Regions from separate parts of the Homo sapiens genome. Here region 2 is linked to region 1. The links are contacts of gene promoters, found by promoter capture Hi-C in blood cells and fetal thymus (Javierre and others, 2016). All regions are on one chromosome and are shown on one strand. The core of a region is centred on a gene start or on the middle of the fragment in contact, and the rest is flanking DNA. Distances in the headings are between cores, read along the strand shown.

Evidence for each region. The method cuts DNA at HindIII sites, captures the fragments that hold promoters and counts their contacts. A CHiCAGO score of 5 or more calls a contact.
Region 2: a fragment that was not itself captured here is called in contact with the fragment with the promoter of GAD1 in region 1 in 1 of 17 cell types (megakaryocytes); the score reaches 5.5 in megakaryocytes.

The regions. Positions count from the first base shown.
Region 1 is chr2:170,815,276-170,819,405 of GRCh38, forward strand. It overlaps GAD1 (glutamate decarboxylase 1), which reads left to right and starts at 1,612. Exons shown (of 17, transcript NM_000817.3): 1 at 1,612-1,773; 2 at 3,254-3,398. The coding sequence starts at 3,317. GAD1-AS1 (GAD1 antisense RNA 1) reads right to left here and starts at 3,376. Exons shown (of 4, transcript NR_197761.1): 1 at 3,111-3,376; 2 at 2,443-2,640; 3 at 1,579-1,757; 4 at 1-1,210. RefSeq lists a silencer at 1,427-1,506 and enhancers at 1,594-1,763, 3,003-3,526, 3,527-4,049. The HindIII fragment of the contact is 11,655 bases long and covers 1-4,096 here.
Region 2 is chr2:170,271,705-170,275,692 of GRCh38, forward strand. All of the region lies in intron 7 of MYO3B (myosin IIIB), which reads left to right. Among named protein-coding and RNA genes, the nearest start is that of MYO3B-AS1, 77 kb to the right of the region's middle. The HindIII fragment of the contact is 2,248 bases long and covers 433-2,680 here.

The DNA of each region.
Region 1 (4,130 bases), core at 362-2,861:
GTCACCGCGCGCCCCGCCGTTTAGGATGTTTTTTGTGTCCTTAAAAAGTGCCGGGGATTTCATCGTCAGGTGGAGACAAGGCGACAAAACAGTAGTTTCTTTAGTACCAAAGGCAACGCGATTATTTCAAACCCCACAGCGAGATCCCTCTTGCTGATCAGGCCATGTCTGCCCAGGGCGGACCCTTCGATCTCCCTTATGGAACTCTCGGTAATTTATAATATTTTTGTGTGTGTTTCCATTGTGTTGTGGTGAAAGGCGATAAGGCATTCAAAGAAAACGGACGGGCCTCCGCTGAACCAGTGAGGCCCCAGACGTGCGCATAAATAACCCCTGCGTGCTGCACCACCTGGGGAGAGGGGGAGGACCACGGTAAATACCAGTAAAGGAATCACTGCCTACACGGTGTCACCCAGACACGCACAGACATCAACATTTTTGCCCTAAAGAAAAAAACTGGGGGAGAAGAAAGGGGAGAACTTAAACTAGTGACAGGGCGGTGAGGGAAGGCATGAAGAGGCAAGCCGGCGCGTAACCGTCTGGCCAGCAGCTCCAGGTGTGGGCTCCGCTCGGGCGCTGGCGGAGAGACCCGGGAGCGCAGGGCCTCTCCGTCTCTGGGCTCTTGGCGCCCTCTGGTGGGAATTTCTCTTTCAACGCATTTTTACGGCGAGGGGCTTCTCCCAACGCAGCGGTTCTTTTAACTACGCCTAAATATTGCAAAGGGAGAATCCTTAAAGCGCGTGAAATCGAAGGGGGAGCGGGCCAGGGCAAGGGGGGCTGGTCCGCCCCTTCCGGGCACCTCTGTGCTCGGGTGCCCCATGCGCGTGCAGCGGCGCTCGTGCGTGTCATCAACCTTCAAACGTGATTAATCAGGAGGCCTTCTTTTCCCATCACCAAGGGGGCCAAAGCGAGGAGCGAGCGCATAGCAAAAGGGACGCGGGGTCCTTTTCTCTGCCGGTGGCACTGGGTAGCTGTGGCCAGGTGTGGTACTTTGATGGGGCCCAGGGCTGGATGAGGAAACTGTAATTCCTCCATGGTCTAAGAGGTCTCCCCTCATTTCTGCCTCCTTTGCGGTTACAACAATCCCAGCTCCGTAGAGAGCCAACGAGGACACGACCCAAAGCGCGCTTTCGCTCAAGGAAGCGTCGCAGGGTCACAGATCTGGGGGAACCCCGGGGAAAAGCACTGAGGCAAAACCGCCGCTCGTCTCCTACAATATATGGGAGGGGGAGGGGAAATGGGAGAGGGGAAAGGAGGGGAGGGAAGAAGAAACGCTCAGAAAGGCAGAATTCTTCGTAGGAATTATCTTTTCCCTCCTCTCACCCGACAGCCTGCCTATTTCCAAAGGAAAAAAAAAAAGCGTGTTGAGTACGTTCTGGATTACTCATAAGACCTTTTTTTTTTCCTTCCGGGCGCAAAACCGTGAGCTGGATTTATAATCGCCCTATAAAGCTCCAGAGGCGGTCAGGCACCTGCAGAGGAGCCCCGCCGCTCCGCCGACTAGCTGCCCCCGCGAGCAACGGCCTCGTGATTTCCCCGCCGATCCGGTCCCCGCCTCCCCACTCTGCCCCCGCCTACCCCGGAGCCGTGCAGCCGCCTCTCCGAATCTCTCTCTTCTCCTGGCGCTCGCGTGCGAGAGGGAACTAGCGAGAACGAGGAAGCAGCTGGAGGTGACGCCGGGCAGATTACGCCTGTCAGGGCCGAGCCGAGCGGATCGCTGGGCGCTGTGCAGAGGAAAGGCGGGAGTGCCCGGCTCGCTGTCGCAGAGCCGAGGTGGGTAAGCTAGCGACCACCTGGACTTCCCAGCGCCCAACCGTGGCTTTTCAGCCAGGTCCTCTCCTCCCGCGGCTTCTCAACCAACCCCATCCCAGCGCCGGCCACCCAACCTCCCGAAATGAGTGCTTCCTGCCCGCCCTAGTCCCTGCTCTCCACGGGTGCGCTGCGCAGGGACCCCCCCCCCCCCGCCTCCCTCGTCACTCTTCTTATCCCTGCCCTCCGGATTCACGCCCCGGGGAAGCACGGAGGCTGAGGCTCTAGTTGAAGTGGGGCAAGAGCGATTTTCCCTTGAGCTTCCATGCTGCGAGCGCCTGTCCCTCCAAAGGGCGCCTGGGCAGCAGCAGCCGAAGGCGCTACTAGGAACGGTAACCTGTTACTTTTCCAGGGGCCGTAGTCGACCCGCTGCCCGAGTTGCTGTGCGACTGCGCGCGCGGGGCTAGGAGTGAGGTCGGAGGGAGGGTGTGGAGGCGATGGCCGGTGGGCCCTTCTCTGTGGGGTCCTCGATCTACCCAGATTAGCCCGCAATCTCTCTGTCCCGGGGCCTTCGGGCGCCATCGCGCCAGCGCCGAGAGTCGAGCAGGGGCGCCGCGCAAGATCTTTGTCCGCCGCCTCCTGCGCGCTGCGCGCAAGTTCGTTTCCCCGGTGACGTTCCCCATGCTTACTTACCCCACCCTCTCTGGATCTGTACCGCGAGAAATCTGGGGTCCTCAGGGGGCTAGGTAGAGGAGAAACGCTGAAACCGGACCGAAACCTCGCCCTAGGCTTAGCGATGGCTAAAAACCGGCTGGGATAAGAGGGAGGCAAGCAACATTCCGACTCGCTGCTTTCTGGCTGTCTGGAGTGCAAGGTGACTGTGGTTCTTCTCTGGCCAAGTCCGAGGGAGAACGTAAAGATATGGGCCTTTTTCCCCCTCTCACCTTGTCTCACCAAAGTCCCTAGTCCCCGGAGCAGTTAGCCTCTTTCTTTCCAGGGAATTAGCCAGACACAACAACGGGAACCAGACACCGAACCAGACATGCCCGCCCCGTGCGCCCTCCCCCCGCTGGCCCACACGCCGGCTGCTGAGTGCCCAATGGGGCTTGTAGCGGCTCGGCTGGAAAATCGCTCACTGAGCGCTCCCCTGTGCTCCTAGCCTAGTCCCCCACACCCTTGCGTCTTGTACTGGCCTTGGACCCCCACCCCGACCCCGACCCCGCCTCGTCTCGGCGCTTCACTCCAGGTCGCGCCGATGCACCGCCAGACTCGAGAGCGGCCCAGGGCTACGCTCCCTGCGCCCCAGTACCGGAGCTAGCGCGCACGTCTCCTCCGCTGCCCCCACCCCTGCGCACCCCTACCAGGCAGGCTCGCTGCCTTTCCTCCCTCTTGTCTCTCCAGAGCCGGATCTTCAAGGGGAGCCTCCGTGCCCCCGGCTGCTCAGTCCCTCCGGTGTGCAGGACCCCGGAAGTCCTCCCCGCACAGCTCTCGCTTCTCTTTGCAGCCTGTTTCTGCGCCGGACCAGTCGAGGACTCTGGACAGTAGAGGCCCCGGGACGACCGAGCTGATGGCGTCTTCGACCCCATCTTCGTCCGCAACCTCCTCGAACGCGGGAGCGGACCCCAATACCACTAACCTGCGCCCCACAAGTAGGTCCCGCCCCAATTTTCTATCAAATGAACTGCAGGGAAGATGGGGGCGCTGGGACGTCGGGAGGCTGAGCTGGCGGAAAGGGAAGGGGGAGCGCGGAGATAATGGAGGCTGGGAAATAAATGGGGCTCTGACCCCGTCCCTGCCAGAGGTCATTCGGCTGTCAGGGACGCTAGGTGACTCCCAGGGCACCGGAAAGCGAGGACCACGCAAGGTCCGAGCAGCGGCGATCGTTGAGGGCTTCGCGGAGGAGGAGGGGCGCGCAGCCAGGGTGTTGTTTTTATTCTGTTGTGTGTGGTTTCTTTGCTCCGTGGGACGACAGGGGTCAGCGCAGGGGGCGGAATGAAGAGCTAGGAGCCCCAGCAGGAATAAGAGTTTTCAGTCCCCGGCTTTCGTTGAGCCAAGATCTGACCTCCTCCTTTCCCCCTGGGCTGTGTTCAAAGTCTATAATCAGCGGAAATTTCGACGTTAATTGCAGCTTTTAGAAAACTCAAGGTCCCTAATTGCTCCAAATTTGCATCAAGCTATTGACGAGTTAGGGAGAAGTCAGGGGCGGGAAAGGTGCATAAAACTGAGACTGAGCCTTGACATTTCATACAATTAATTACATCTCAGAGAAATAAATAAATAAATAAATAAATAGGGGAGCGGGCGGCATCCTGAGTGGCAAGAGATGGGGAACTGGGAGGGGGCAAGAAGCTTTATCATAGAGAGGAGAGAGCACCTCTCTC
Region 2 (3,988 bases), core at 307-2,806, 540 kb before region 1:
TCTGGTCTTATTAAGGAATTCTGAAAATTGCTAATTGTTATAATAAGAATTTTAACCACAAACAAGCCAAATTTACTGAATTCTTCCTTTATGCCCAGCACTGACTGATACTATAGTGGGCTTCGGAAATGTTCCCAAAATGACTTTTGTTTTTAAGTTACTCTGAATGTAGTCTCAGAATTTGAGGTGGGGACTAGTAGGTTTTAGTGGCCTATTTGTATTCAGGTTTCAGTATATAATAATGTGAAAATAGCTCTTTGTATCTAGTAAACTTGCAGATGCCAGCTGACTGGTGAGGGACTGTTATATTTCTACATTTCATCTTACTGCTTCTAACCCAGTGATGTCCCTCTTTCTAAATAGTGACAGAAGGGAAACTTTTTTTTTTTTTTAACTTGGCCCATGGAAATGGGCTATTCCAATGGTTCTCAAAGCTTGGTCTCTGAACCGATAGCATCGGCATCACTTGGGAACATGTTAGAAATGCAAATTCACAGGCCCTAGCCTAGACTGACTGAATCAGAAACTGGGAGTGGGGACCAGTGATCTGTGTTTTAACAAGCCCTGTGGGTGCTTCTGAGGCTCACTCAAACTTGAGAATCCTGGGATGGCTCCTTTCCAACCCTTCTGTTACTGCCTTGGTGTAACCCTCATCAGTCTGGACCACTGGAGCAGTCCCCAGCTGGTCTCCCTACTTCCAGAGTTAACCTGTCCAATCCATTCCCCACATCAGTTGGCCTTTGATTTTTGTCTCATCACCAGTGGAATACTCAACACTCTAAAGGGAGCCCAAGTTTTCCTCCTTCAGTTTACTCACCCACAAGGAGTAGACCAAGGCAATGAATGCAGTAGACCACAGTAGTGACAGGGCAGGTAGAGGTGGGAGTGGTAACTACCATGGTTTGAGAGTGTCTCCCAAAAACCATGTGTTGAGAACTTAATCCCCCGTGTCAACAGTGTTGGGAGGTGGGGCATAATGAGAGGTGACTGGACCATGAGGGTGGAGTGACTGTATTAATGCTATTATTGTAAGAGTGAGTTCTTCATAAAAGGACAAGTTTGGCCCTTTTCTGTTTTTCTTTTGCCCTTTCTTTGCCCCTTTGCCATGGGACGATGTAGCAAGATCCTTAAGCCTTCAGTTTTGTACGTCTCAATCTTGTACATCTCATAATACTATTCTGGTATAATGAACAGAAAATGTATTAGCTTGTGGATACCAATGTCTGGATTCTGTTACAGCAGCACAAAACAGACTAAGATAGTAACCATTATGGGAAGGAGTATTGGGTCAATTGCTCTTTCTCCTTTTTCTTTTAGATGGGTTGGGGTGGGGTAGTGTATATGTGTTTCCCTTAGGATCAGCTGTATTTGCCATTTGAGACTTAAGATCAAGAGGGCCAAGATTCAAAAGTGGATCTCCAGGAAGAATCCAAAGAGACTACTCAGCCCGGAGCCAAGGCCAAAAGGATGCTCTGAGCAATCTATAGTCTGGCCCATCTCACCCAGTGACCATGTGGGGGTTTGAGGTCCAAGCCTCAACTGATAATTAAAAGTGATTTAGCCTGGAGCAACCCACCTGCATTTCTGTCTTGGGAACTGGAGGCGAAACTAGGGATCTCAGAATGCTGAGACCCTGGGTCCTTGCTGTATATTATCCCAATAAGTCTAGAATCCTCCTCTTGCCTCACACCCCTGGATGGCCCACAGCTGCCCAAAGGATGAAGTTCAAATCTCTTGTTACAGCCTAGAAGGTCTTTCAAACTCTAGTTCCTGCTTATTTTCTCTTGAGTCTGCCTAAAGAATCCTGCTCTCCAGCCGTATCAAATTAAGTCTCTGAAGAAGACATAGTCTTTCATCGTTCTTTATGTTTAACACATACTGTATCATCTGCCTGGGATGCTCATTTCTTCCTTCCTCTCACGTACTTCATCTTCCATATTCCCCTTGGACCTGCCACTATCTACATGGTGACCATCCTTCAAAACTCAGCTCATATGTCACTTCCTCGGTGAAACCTTCCTCAAACCCGTCAAGCAGGATTGGACTCGTGTAATTATCACATAAAGTTGGTCTAATACATATTTTTTTGTGACAATTGCTTTATTCCTGGAATAAGACATTTTCAGGCTCAAAAGGACCGCAATTCCCTAGCCCCTGGCTATTAATGAGAGGCCTGGAGACCCCACTTTAAATGGCAGTGGGGGGGCACCTGGGGAAGCCATAGATGTGGAGCTGGGCCAATCAGATTTCCTTTCTTGGAAATTTTAACTGAGACATAGAGAGTCATTTAATCGGTGATGTGTGTATGAGCTGAAAAGTTGGAAAGAGTTTGGGCTGGTCTGGCCATATTAGACATATATCAGATGCATAGGCAAAGCAAACTACGAGAGAGAGAGAGAGAGAGATCAAGACTGAGAGAGAGACCAAGATGGCTTTAGACAGAGGGAGGGAGAGAGAATGAGAGAGAGAGAGAGACACTGAGAGAGAGAAAGACAGAGACCAAGCTGACGTTAGACGTAGGTGAGACAATAATATCCAGGGATTAATCCAAATTTCCAGCCTTTTTTCTTTTCTCTTCCTAGCTTTTTTACTTGAGGCCTGTCTGAATGTAATTTTGGGTTCTCAGATTCATTGGAATGCTTTATCCCTTTGCATCCTTAAATAAAACTCCTTTAACTCAAGCTTTTTGAAGCAGGTTTCTTTTCAGTGCAACCGGGAAAGCTTTGATTAGCACAAGGATTCTACTCACTGTGTTCTCAGTTCCACATAGCAAAGTGGCTACTTTTAGTAGGCTCGGTAAATATTGGATGAGTGAACTAACAGTAGGCACTAAAGATGCTGCAGGGCACCCAGAAAATTATTCTGTAGAGTCAAAACCTGAAAGGCATAGGGTTGTGTGAGGAAGAGAGGGAACTGACTACAGAGGCATGAAGCTACTATTTGGAGTGATGGAAATGTTCTATATCTTGATTCTAGTGATAATTCCATGACTCTATGTGCTTATCAAAATGCACAGAACTCTACATTGAAAAAGGTGACTTTTACTGTATGTAAATTTTAACTTAATAAACTTAACCTAATAAAGAAGCAATAAAAAAGAAAAAAACGCAAAGTAAAATAATATTTTCTCTACAACACATTAATTTCCTAATCAAAAATCTTTAACTTTTTTTGCATCATTTTACCCAATTCTTTTTCTTTTTTCCTGGGACCATAGGATCCAGATAATAGAAATGTTGATTATGGGACATGATATTGCTTTTTGACTTGCTTGACATTATTCAAAAATGTTGCCAAAATAGAAAGTACTATTTCTCTACTTTCCAGTTCTGAGTACTGATAAAAGCAAAATATTATGTTCAGAAAGAAATAAGCCCGTATTTCTGAGCTCCAGCTTCTGCTAGGTCCCCATTTAATGTTGTTGCCTAACTACTAACTATTTGATTTGAAAGCTTTAAACAATATTGATTATACTCTCCTGAGCAGGCATCTCTCAGACTTAAACATTGCTTCATAGGATATTTAAACACGCCAATTGAAAACAATAATAACAATGACAATTTATGAAGGTTGCATTCCCAAATGTATTTGAGAAATTCTAGTTTAAGAAAAGTGAACATGTTTCTTTATTTCAAGACTTCCCGATGTCTTAGAATAGTCAGACATCAAATTTCATCCACAGTTTCCAGAGTTGCTATTTCTTTCCCATACCTTTGCTTTGGAACTTGATCTAATGGAATTGTTACTGTTACTATGACATTTTTCATGTGTACTATGTCCTAAAAACACTGTGGTTGCATTCATTTTATTTTATTTTTGAGAGATGAATCTAGGGCCTCTTGAACTTTTTATTCGTAGTTATGCTGAGTACTAGCTTACTTTAAAAATAAGTCTCCAGTACTTGTGAGGAAGACTCATTGTCAGAGCATGAAAGATTTTTCTGCCTTTTGTTTTGACTTCTAAGATACGTTTCTTTATTAAGGAATAG